Regions from separate parts of the Homo sapiens genome. Here regions 1, 3 and 4 are each linked to region 2. The links are contacts of gene promoters, found by promoter capture Hi-C in blood cells and fetal thymus (Javierre and others, 2016). All regions are on one chromosome and are shown on one strand. Each heading gives the region's core, a stretch centred on a gene start or on the middle of the fragment in contact. The rest is flanking DNA. Distances are from core to core; before and after follow the strand shown. Region 1 overlaps ANXA2R-OT1 (ANXA2R overlapping transcript 1). Region 2 holds the start of FBXO4 (F-box protein 4). Region 3 overlaps ZNF131 (zinc finger protein 131). Region 4 overlaps TTC33 (tetratricopeptide repeat domain 33).

Region 1 (2,700 bases), core at 108-2,607, 1.1 Mb before region 2:
AAGGCTTACTGCAGCCTCAACCTCCTTGGCTCAAGCAATCCTTCCACCTCCACCTTCCAAGCAGCTGCAACCACAGGCGCATGCCTCCATGCCCAGCAAATTTTTGAACTTTTTGTAGAGACGGTGTTTCGCCTTTTGCCCAGGCTGGTCTCGAAGTCTTGGGCTTCAGCAATCCTCCCACCTCGACCTCCCAAAGTGCTGGGATTGCAGTTGCGAGCTCTGACACCCAGCCCATTGCCAGATATTACAGGAAACAAAAAATTCAAGATCCAGTCTAGATTTCAGGTAGACGAAAAAACCTCAAAAACAATGAGCTAGAGTCTAATAACAGGTGCACTATATTTTTTTCTCTGAAAGTTTTTTCTCTATACTTACTCCCTTTTTATCAAACATCATCAAAGTATTAGTAAGAGTAATCTGTTTGCAAAATAAATTTAGTGTCTTTAAAGTTGGCCTAATATTTACACAAGTGCAGCAGGAATAGTGTTTTACCACACAGGGTCTCTTTAAGTTGGCTTTTCTGGATCTTTTAATAAGGAATCTCAAATTAGACTTTTAAAAGCCTCTCAAGGCTAGGAAACCATACCAGGATCTTGCTATCACACTTTGCCTGGAATACCTATAGATTTCGGTGAATTCTTCCCTTGTCAAGGTCCTCCAAATATCCTGATGTTCCTCAGCCTGCCAGGAAGTGACATTTCTTACCCACCTGTAAGGCCAGGAACCCTTTTAAACCAGACCAGTTTCTCAAGTCTGAGTGTGTTGTTTCTGTTCCTAAAAACCACAAAAGAAAGAAAACAGTGATATTACATTCAACGTGGTAACAACTCTGAATCTTTGTTCTAACAGTGGAAATATAATATCTCTAGGGATTAAGCCCGGTCTCCAGAATGTACCCGGGCCATAGGAAAATAACATCCAGATGTTTTTTAACAGCACCTACAAGGACGAGCTGAGGGTTTCTCAGTATAGGGGAAACTGTCACAAGGTGTACCCTCTTTTCTTTTGAAGCAGTAAAAGCAGTTCTCATTCTTCCCCATTCTTTGTTCAAAGCATATGAGATATGAGCCAGCTTTATAGTTATTGTCATGCTACCTTACATGCATGTAAATCTGTTAAGGCTAATTCAATACTAGTGTTCTGTCTCTCTTCTGTTGGGTACACAGGGGTCTTTTTGTGTCAGGATTGTTTTATTTCTCCCACAGTGGATATATTCTTCCCCTTTCTTTCATCCTAAGTGGATTATTCTTAGAAGCTTATCCTAAGTGGATTATTCTTAGATAGGGCTTCCTAGAAGATGGTTCCATGTGATCAAGCAAACTGTTGTGTTCAAGGTAGGTTCAGTTAATAGTACCCAATGTTCATAAAAGTAGTGGGGGATTCTCTTTAAAAAAAAGAATAAAAATTTTGAGTACAAAATTACAGACCTGTTCAAACGGATCCTAAAAGCTAAGCTTCCTTAGCTGCATGGTAAATTCGCCTCTGACCCTGCGTGATACCCAGTATGGGCCAATAAGGTAGTGTTGCAGGAAACTGAGGACCAGAGAGACTGATATGGAGAACAGGAGGATTGTTTATTTTAGGTACGCACCGGCTCAGTGGATTTGCATCCAAAAAGCTGAGCCTAGAACAAAGACAGAGTGGGGTTTTTATAAGCTGGCTTACAAAAGTAAAACAAAAGCAGCTAATCATATGATAGGTCACATAATCTATAGCATAGCATAACTTGTGGCCTTGCATAGTCGGTGGTCTTGTGCCTGCATTGAAAGAAAAACAAGAACTGGCTAAATACAGACATTTGTAAAACATAATCTCGCTTAAGAAGCCTGGGAGAGGAGTAACAGTAAAAGAATTTGTCTTTCTTTTTTTTTTTTTTTCATTCAACCTTGCTCTGGAGCAGGGGCGGGTGTCTGGAGCCCATTCCTTTGGACTTGGCTTTCCGGACAGGGGTATCTTATAACTGTCTTTGAAGTGAGCTTGCTAGGCAGAGGAGAACTTGTTCTTTTCTTTTTAACCCTTGCCCTGCCTGTTACTTTTCTTGGAGTGAATGAATGCGTATTTATTTTTAAATTTTCTGCCTCAGTAGCACACCATTGAATTGTCTCTCACTCCTTCCTATTCTAATTACCCTGTCTTTTAACTCCCACTCTCTTAAAAAAACCACTTTTGAATTAAAAAGTGGCACATAAGTTTTCACTTTAGCTAATGCTTCCTGTGGAAGCCAGGCCAATAAAATATGCCTCTCTGTTTACCTTATATGCTTTGACTTTTTTCTTCTGCAGACTGAATCCTAAATAATTCAATCTGTATTGAAAAGATTATGAGGATGCCTACAAAAATAGAATGATTCAGGTCACTATTGACCTTTGAATGGCCCCGAATGAGACATGATGCCAGTATTTAATAAGTCTGCCTGAGCAGGGCAGAAAAATTAAAAGGCCCTTTTAAATATCAAGCAAGTATGAATATTTATATGCCTATTTTGTATATCACTCTTGTCAATCCCCCAATTTTTTGGTTAGCCAAGAGCTCTCATGATCACAGGTGATAAAAATTATAATGTATTAGCATATTGAATCCAGCAATATATGTTTTAAAAAATACATCATGATCCAGTGGGATTTATTCCATGAACTCAATATTGGTTTAGCACTTGAAAATCAGTTAATATTAGTCAACACATTAACATTAAAAAGGAAG
Region 2 (2,700 bases), core at 156-2,655:
ACATAAATTAGTTAAGGAAATAATTTGTCCTTCAAAATAAAACCCATATCAACCTTTATCTGATTTTATCATCAGACCAAATCAAAGAGTGTACATTTGTCTTTTTCTTTTTTGAGACACAGTCTCGCTCTGTCGCCCAGGCTGGAGTGCAGTGGCAAGATCTCGGCTCACTGCAAGCTCCGTCTCCCAGGTTCACGCCATGCTCCTGCCTCAGCCTCCCAAGTAGCTGGGACTACAGGCGCCTGCCACCAAGCCCGGCTAATTTTTTATATTTTTAGTAGAGACGGGGTTTCACCGTGTTAGCCAGGATGGTCTTGATCTCCTGACCTCGTGATCCGCCCACCTGGGTCTCCCAAAGTGCTGGGATTACAGGCGTGAGCCACCGCGCCCGGCCGTAAATTTGTCATCTTAGTTCCTCTACAGAATCTATTAAAATGTTATGAAAAACCTCTGCAAGGAGAAACTTGGAGGCATTCTAAACCTGCAGCTTTCACGTTGATATACACATTGGAGAGAGGTGTCAATAGTCCAAATGAGACAAAGAATTGTAATAATTTTCAATAATTTTTGTTCTCTTCATTTACCTATCTACCCCAAAGTTTAACAATAAGTTATGTGTGTCATTCTCGTGGCCTTGATGTAACTTGAGGCACTTGTAACTTAAGTCATTTATTTTCAACTGAGGGGCCGTTTTGTTTCTTCAAATACACAATAACAGCCACAGGCACAATGTCCTCTTGAGAGGGTAAAAACCTTGGCCCTCCAAGTGTTTTGGTACAGTGATCCGGAATCAAAGACGCTGGGAACAGGGACGCTGGAATGCTTTCCCAAGCTAATCAGCAAGTTGGGAACTGTCTCATTTCCGTAACCGGACATTCAGGGTGTCCTAGTCACATGTGCCTGTTTTGGCGGGTGGAAAACCTGAGGGCGATCGGGAGGGTCCCCAGGGGCCCCATGAAGGTGCTTCCCTGAGATGTTCGGGCCCCCTGCGGAGCACCAGGGTCCACGCCAAGACGCTTCTGATCAACTGTAGCTTCTCGGTGACTACACTGCCAGGAATGGCTGCATGGACGGAGCCAGACCCAGGCCGGGGCGCGAGAGTTCCCCAGGCCCCGGGGGGCTCCAGGGGAGGTCCCTCCGGCCCGGGCCGGCCCCACTGTCCTCCGCGGCCTGCGGCCGACGCTCACCGGCAGCCGCGTCAGGGTGCTGGCCGCCTCATCCACCTCCTCCCGTGAGGTCGTACGCGCCACCCTCTCCTTGCTCACTGACTGCCAGAAGGTCTTCCAGCCGCTGAGGATGGCCGCCTCCAGGCGGCCCCAGTCGCTGAAGGGCGGCGGCGGCGAGTTTGTTCCGCTGCGCGGCTCGCTTCCCGCCATGGCTTGCCCGCAGCGTGGGTGACGCGTCTTAGAGCCACGCTAGCGCGTCAGCCTCCTGCGCAGCTCCGCGCCAGCCGAGGGCGCCCTCGGGCGTTCCGCCTCCCGCTTCTCCCGCGAGTCCGCCTCCAGGGCAGGGTTAGGCCCAGGGGCAAGGGCGGGTACTGGGAGGAAGCCCACTGTGCGTGGCTGTGAGCCGAGTACGAAGCTCCTGTCAACAATTAACTTCCCCAGTAACTTGTGGCCTCAACCTCAGCCACGCCAACCGCAGAGCCCCTGTACAACCTCTGGCCCGCTGACTTCCTGGCTTCATTCAAGATGTTCTCTCCGGGATCATTTCCACTATGCCTGGTCCTAGGCGACTCCGCTTGTTCGATAGACCTCTGCCACTGTCTTGGGCTTAATAACCACTTGCTTCCTTTTCAGCACTACCATACTACGTATGGGGTGTTTTTTGTGTGTGTTATTTCCTCAATCACCAAGTTACCATTTATTTTCTTGAGTATCAGCAAAAACAGACTAGAGAGGCAGTCAGCGGGCCAATTACAAAGAACCTTTTGCCAAAATGAGAAGTCTGGACCCACTATGCAAAAATATAAGCACATTTAAAATTTGCAAGGGCGGCAAAAAACGGCTAGAAGAACCCAGATGTGGTGGTGTTGAAATCCCACTAGTGAGTTTTTTAATTCTCAAACCAGATGCCCATTCTACTTACTTTGGGCTTACTTTAAAAGTGCTTTAAGAGAACGTATTACAAGTTAATCTGTTACATAGAACTGGGTATGTATACATTCAAAAAGTAAATCTCTGAGGATCTAAATGTCAACAGAATCCAAGAAAGCCTGATAACTAAGGTTCTGCAAGGCTCTGTAACATACAAGTTTAAGTTTCATTACATTTTATTATTTGCATGTTGTTGGTAGGGGCCAATAACCAATAAAATTGCAGCCTCGTTTTTGGGAGGCAATCTGGACAAGGACCACGGATTAACCATATGGCATTTCTCATCACTTTCTAGGACACGATTTACTTTGAGAGCAAAAAACGAACTAGAGCAAGAAAAAAAATCAGTTCAAGTATAAAGTATTAAAATGATATCTGTTAAATGAATGAGAAAAACTTTATTACGGAAAATTTTGAACATTTATAAAAGGAGAGTGAATAATATGCTCCTGTGTGCCCAGTATCCAAGATTCCATTACCAACACCTGGTTAATCTTGTGCTGTTGCTATACTCACCTAATACTACACCCCCAATTCTGGATCCTTTTGAAACAAATCCCAGACCTATCATCTGTAAATATCTCAGTATCCGTCCCTAAAAAAA
Region 3 (2,700 bases), core at 77-2,576, 1.2 Mb before region 2:
CTCTCGACCTCAGGTGATCTGCCTGCCTCGGCCTCCCAAAGTGCTGGGATTACAGGCGTGAGCCACCGCATCCGGCCAGGCCACTTATTTTTTAAGACTTAAAAATTCTGCTCAGACTTGGCCAGTCGTGGTCTCACGCCTGTAATCCCAGCACTTTGGGAGGAAGAGGCGGGTGGATCACCTGAGGTGGGGAATTCGAGACCAGCCTGATCACGCCATTGCACTCCAGCCTGGGTAACAAGAGCTAAAATCTATCTCCAAAAAAAAGAAAAAAAAAATTCTGCTCAGACTCAAAACTCCTCTTTGAAATCTTTCCTAAGGAAGACCAAACCACTCATTCTCCCTCTTCAGTGATACCATTTCACAGTAATAGTCTTTGTAATACTTTTTGCACTCCTTTATTTGCCTGTTGCTCACCTGTTATGAAATTTTCCGACTTCTTTAAGGGACATCTTATTCATTAATTCTTCATCTCCTGGGTCTAACATAGTACATGATATATTATAGATATTCAATATGATAAACTGACTTTTTTTTTTTTTTTTTGAGACAGGGCCTTGCTCTGTCGCCCAGGCTACAATGCAGTGGCAAAATCATGGCTCACTGCAGCTTTGACCTCCTGGGCCCCAGCAATCCTCCCGCCTCAGCCTCCTGAATAGCTGGGACCACAGGCATGTGCCATCAGACTCAGCTAATAATTTTTTAAATTTTTTGTAGAGAAGAGGTCTCCCTAATGTTTCTTAGACTGGACCCTGTTTATCAAGCTTTGACAAGGCACCAAATATCATGCCATGCACTCTGCATGTTATCGCAATTAGTCTTTATAATCCTATGAACCCACTTTTCAGATGAGGAGAAAAGTATGCAATTGAGGTAAAGTAACCCGCCTGGGGTCACATATTTAATAAACCTCAGGTGTGAATGAATTCATGGAGGCTTGCTTTGTAGTAGAAACCACTATCATCTGGGCAGTTAGATTCTCACTTTATTAAGTTTTGTGGATTTTCATAATTATGTCTCTGTCCTGATTATAGATATTAAAAGATACTCTAGCTGTAAATATATCAGCTATAATGCTAAACTGGAATATACCAAAATTAAAGAATATTCTTAACTCTTTTTTGTTTTCTTTACTCCCCTAGGCATCAAAGGGAAAAAAGGAGTTTCTAGGCAACCCATTCAGAACAAAGAATACGTACACAATGAAATAGATATAAAACCAAAACCCAAGAACCCTAAAAGAAGCTAAAATTCTGTAATTACGTAGGCAAACATTTATTTCCTGCTGTTTTAGATTTTGATGCTGGTGGTAGGGGAGGAGTTACTGCAGTAGCAGAAGAAAAAGCATGGTAATTAATAGCACAAACTTAATTCCTTGCTAGTTGGACAACCCTGGGCAAGTAACCTTTTAGAGCCTGCTTCCTGAAGTGTAAATTATTACAAATAACACCACTTCCCTTTTTGAAAAGAAAAGAAAAGAAAAGAAAAGACAGGGTCTATGTTGCCCCAGGCTGGCCTCGAACTCCTGGGCTCAAGCAATCCTCCTGCCTCAGCCTCCCGAGTAGCTGGGACTACAAGCACAAGCCATCCTGCCCAACATCAAACGATTGCTGTGAGCCTTAGACAATACACAAAACTACATATCACAACGCCTGGCACTTGGCAGGTTATTATTAGAAAAATGTCTAGAAAGTACAAAAATCACTTTTTGCTTCAAGGTAACAGGTATTGATCCATCCCATTGTAGAGCCAGAATTTCCTCTAAATGCTACTTCAGTTCATTTTTCCTAGCTTTCTCCCTATTATGGCAGCCCACTTCACACTGCATGTCATCTGTACCTCTGCTAATACATCACTACTTCTGCTATAGAGTACAGTAAAAGCTTCTACTGTAACCTGCAGCATCTCCAGCAGTCTGAAACATAAGCCCACTGAACAAAGATAGTAATTCACGTTTAATACTTGTTTTCAAAAAACAATGACCACCAGTTTCCACAATGGAAAAGACCAACATCTACCATCTAAGTTTTTCCTGGCAGATCATTCAACCAAGCACTTCACTGAAAGTAAGACTTCTCAGGTATCAAAAGAACAATTTATCTACCTTTACCTACAGGAACTACTGATGCCTATTTCCTATGGTGTCTTGATAAACTGTCTAAAACTGCTTCACCAATTGTTTGCTAAGTATTGTATTTAAAACAAGCATTTAAATAAAATGGCTTCTTTGATTTATTAAATAAAAAAACAACAAGAATCATTTACCTTCTATCTCCACCAATGGTTCTTGGGTAAACTCCTGAAAGAATTTGTAGAAGAACTTACTACAAGCAGCCAAAACAGCCTTGTGAGCCTTAAAATGGTGTCCTAGGTAAAATAAGAAAAAAAAAGAAAATCATACACAAGCACGAAAATCAAATGTATAACTACAAAATAGACTTAAAAATCATATAAAGCAAAATAGGTCTTCCTTCATTACGTAACTACAGAAATTATTGAACTAAATGCAGAATATTCTTGGCAGCTATCTTGGCAAATGTTAATCTCAATTAGATATAAAGCTAAATCTTCACTTCAAACCCCTTTAGTTTTATAAAGCCTAATTTACAACACTAGGTAAGGAGCCTCTTGACACTCTGTTGTTTCCAATTAAGTAGTGAGAAGCATATCCAACTCAGTTGAAACTGCTAAATAAAAGGA
Region 4 (2,700 bases), core at 179-2,678, 1.2 Mb after region 2:
GCTTAAGTCCTCCAGAAAGCCTCAAGTGTCTCTTCTCTGATGTCATGGCATCCTTTGTTTACTCTCTTGTAGCACATATCGTGTATGAAATTGACTGTACTCTGTGGTTTCCAGACACTTTTGAAGAAAATATAAAACTTTGCTAATGGCCTTGATAACAGATTCATGCTTTTACACAGTAGTGGGCCCTTGATACTACTGTTTGGTATCTCTATTTTTCCTTTGTTGCTTTTCCTTATCTCCACAGTGACTATTTTAGTCTTTTCCCTTTTTCTCAAGAACTCAGATCTGTTATTTTCCTTTTACTTTGAGCAGATGACTAGCCGCTGTTTGCTGGAGAAATGTGAAGCTTGGGGCATGAAATTCCTCATTTTCCTTTCCCTCCATCCCTGAACTTGCCTGTATGTTTCACTCAATATTAACTCCTTTTTTTGTCTGAGAGGACTGTATTTTTGTCTCCCTCTTTCAGGTTAAACTTGTCGATTGCTAGTGGCATCAGGCCTCCCACACCCTCATAACCTCAGTCTGTCCTGACCTCTGCAGCCCCTGATCTCTAGGTCTCAAGGGATCTGTGGAGGAGAATGGCTCAAACACCTGAGGCAATAGTGGCGTGGTTTTTTCACATATGGTTGAGAGCCACCACCTTGGGCCATAACTTATACTTGTCCCCAGCATTTATAACAGTGGTTTGGGTTGGAAGATGGGGAGGGTAATTGGAATCTGAATGACCTATTAATTTTAAAAGATGTGTGGGTCTGTTTCTCACTTTTTCCTTTCCTTCCCACCCTATCACAGCCCCTCATGTAATCTACAGATCTGATCAACGGTTTTTTTTTTTACTTTTTTTTCTTTTGATCAATGATTTTTATTGTAGTTTACCTCCAGTAAACACACTAGGTGTCCTTTAGTATGAGTAGGGTTCCCACAGTGCCTGGTGCCTCACCTTATGAATAAAGAAAGTTTCATTTGGAATCTTGAAACCGGAAAACGTGGTCATCATTCTTGTTACCATTAGGGATAATCATAAATACAAGACTTCTTTTTATCTTGTCTTACACTGATATCTTGTGAGTCTTTCCTAATGATCTGTATTTTCTCAGGTTGTCCTCACTGTGTGCCTTTTAACTTCTGTTCCATAGTATCCACACTTCTGTTTTCAGCCATCTTCCCCTACAATACTCATAGTCATCTTCAAACATGGGAAACTCATTCTCCTATAATATGATCGGCCTGGGGAGAGAGTTTGCATTGTCCTTATTCCCCAGCACAGTTTATAATCCATTAGTCCTCCAGGTTTTAAAAAAAATCTCAGTTCCTGTGGAAAGTTTGTGGTTCACTTATATTATCAGCCTGTATATTTCTTTCTTTCTTTCTTTCTTTCTTTTTTTTTTTGAGATGGAGTTTTGCTCGTGTCGCTCAGGCTGGAGTGCAATGGTGCAATCTCGGCTCACTGCAACTTCTACCTCCTAAGTTCAAGCGATTCTCCTGCCTTAGCCTCCCAAGTAGCTGGGATTACAGGCATGTGCCACCATGCCCAGGTACTTTTTGTATTTTTGTAGAGACGGGGTTTCACCATGTTGGCCAGGCTTGTCTTGAACTCCTGACCTCAGGTGATCCGCCTGCCTCTGCCTCCCAAAGTGCTGGGATTACAGGTGTGAGCCACCGCGCCCAGCCTGTATATTTCTTGATTGCTGTGATTTATTGGCACTCTCTCATATTCATTAAGAACTCAGACATACGACTCACAATTTTCTTACCCCTCCAAATTCTGCCATTACGGTAGGTCTTTCCATGTGAATGACCTCATAGCCACCCTCACTTTTTTTCTCACCTTCCTTCTAGTGATTACAGGGATCATTTTATTGTGCTTCACTTTATCACACTTCATAGATACTGCGTTTTTGCACATTGCAAGTGCTCAGTAACCCTGTGTCCAGCAAGTCTTTTCGTGCTATTTGTCCAATAGCATGTGTGCACTTAGTGTCTCTGTGCTACATTTTGGTAATTCTTGAAATATTTCAGATGTTTTAATTATTACTATATCTGTTATGGTGATCTGTAATCGATGATCTTTGGTGTTAACAATTGTAATCATTTTGGGTTGCCATGAACCATGCCCATATGAGATGGTGAACTTAATCAATAAATGTGTGTTTTGAATGCTGTACCACCAACTGGCTATTCCCATCTCTCTTCTTCTCCTTGGGTCTCCCTATTTCCTGAGACACAGCAATATTGAAATTAGGCCAGTTAATCCTACAATGCCCTCTAAGTGTCCAAGTGAAAGGAAGAGTTACACATCTCTCATTTTAAATCAAAAGCTAGAAATGATTTTAGGAAGACCTGTTGAAAGCCAATACAGGCTGAAAGCTAGGCCTCTTGCACCAAACAGCCAAGTGGTGAATGCAAAGGAAAAGTTCTTCAATGAAATTGAAAGTGCTACTTCAGTAAACACACAAATGATAAGAAAGCAAAAACCGCTTTATTGCTAATATGGAGAAGCTTTGAATGGTCTAGATAGATCAAACCAGCCACAATATTCCCTTAAGCAGGAGCCTCATTTAGAGCAAGTTTCTAACTCTCTTCAATTCTGTGAATGCTGAGAGAGGTGAAGAAGCTGCCAAAGTAAAGTTTGAAACTGCTAGAGGTTCGTTTGTGAGGTTTAAGAAGCCATTTTCATAACATGAAAGTGCAAAGTAA

The links. The method cuts DNA at HindIII sites, captures the fragments that hold promoters and counts their contacts. A CHiCAGO score of 5 or more calls a contact.
Region 1: a contact is called between a fragment that was not itself captured here and the fragment with the promoter of FBXO4 in region 2, in 2 of 17 cell types (total B cells and erythroblasts). The highest score is 5.9, in total B cells.
Region 3: a contact is called between a fragment that was not itself captured here and the fragment with the promoter of FBXO4 in region 2, in 2 of 17 cell types (monocytes and naive CD8 T cells). The highest score is 7.9, in monocytes.
Region 4: a contact is called between a fragment that was not itself captured here and the fragment with the promoter of FBXO4 in region 2, in 1 of 17 cell types (total CD4 T cells). The highest score is 5.1, in total CD4 T cells.

Annotation. Positions count from the first base shown.
Region 1 is chr5:43,048,633-43,051,332 of GRCh38, reverse strand. All of the region lies in intron 2 of ANXA2R-OT1 (ANXA2R overlapping transcript 1), which reads left to right. Among named protein-coding and RNA genes, the nearest start is that of ANXA2R-AS1, 7.8 kb to the right of the region's middle. The HindIII fragment of the contact is 199 bases long and covers 1,258-1,456 here.
Region 2 is chr5:41,923,986-41,926,685 of GRCh38, reverse strand. It overlaps FBXO4 (F-box protein 4), which reads right to left and starts at 1,405. Exons shown (of 7, transcript NM_012176.3): 1 at 1,188-1,405. The coding sequence starts at 1,376. RefSeq lists a silencer at 968-1,147. The HindIII fragment of the contact is 6,278 bases long and covers 1-2,700 here.
Region 3 is chr5:43,122,876-43,125,575 of GRCh38, reverse strand. It overlaps ZNF131 (zinc finger protein 131), which reads right to left. Exons shown (of 7, transcript NM_001330707.2): 3 at 2,266-2,367. Among named protein-coding and RNA genes, the nearest start is that of ZNF131, 3.3 kb to the right of the region's middle. The HindIII fragment of the contact is 1,119 bases long and covers 767-1,885 here.
Region 4 is chr5:40,752,057-40,754,756 of GRCh38, reverse strand. The region is part of intron 1 of TTC33 (tetratricopeptide repeat domain 33); the gene reads left to right. Among named protein-coding and RNA genes, the nearest start is that of TTC33, 2.6 kb to the left of the region's middle. The HindIII fragment of the contact is 2,153 bases long and covers 352-2,504 here.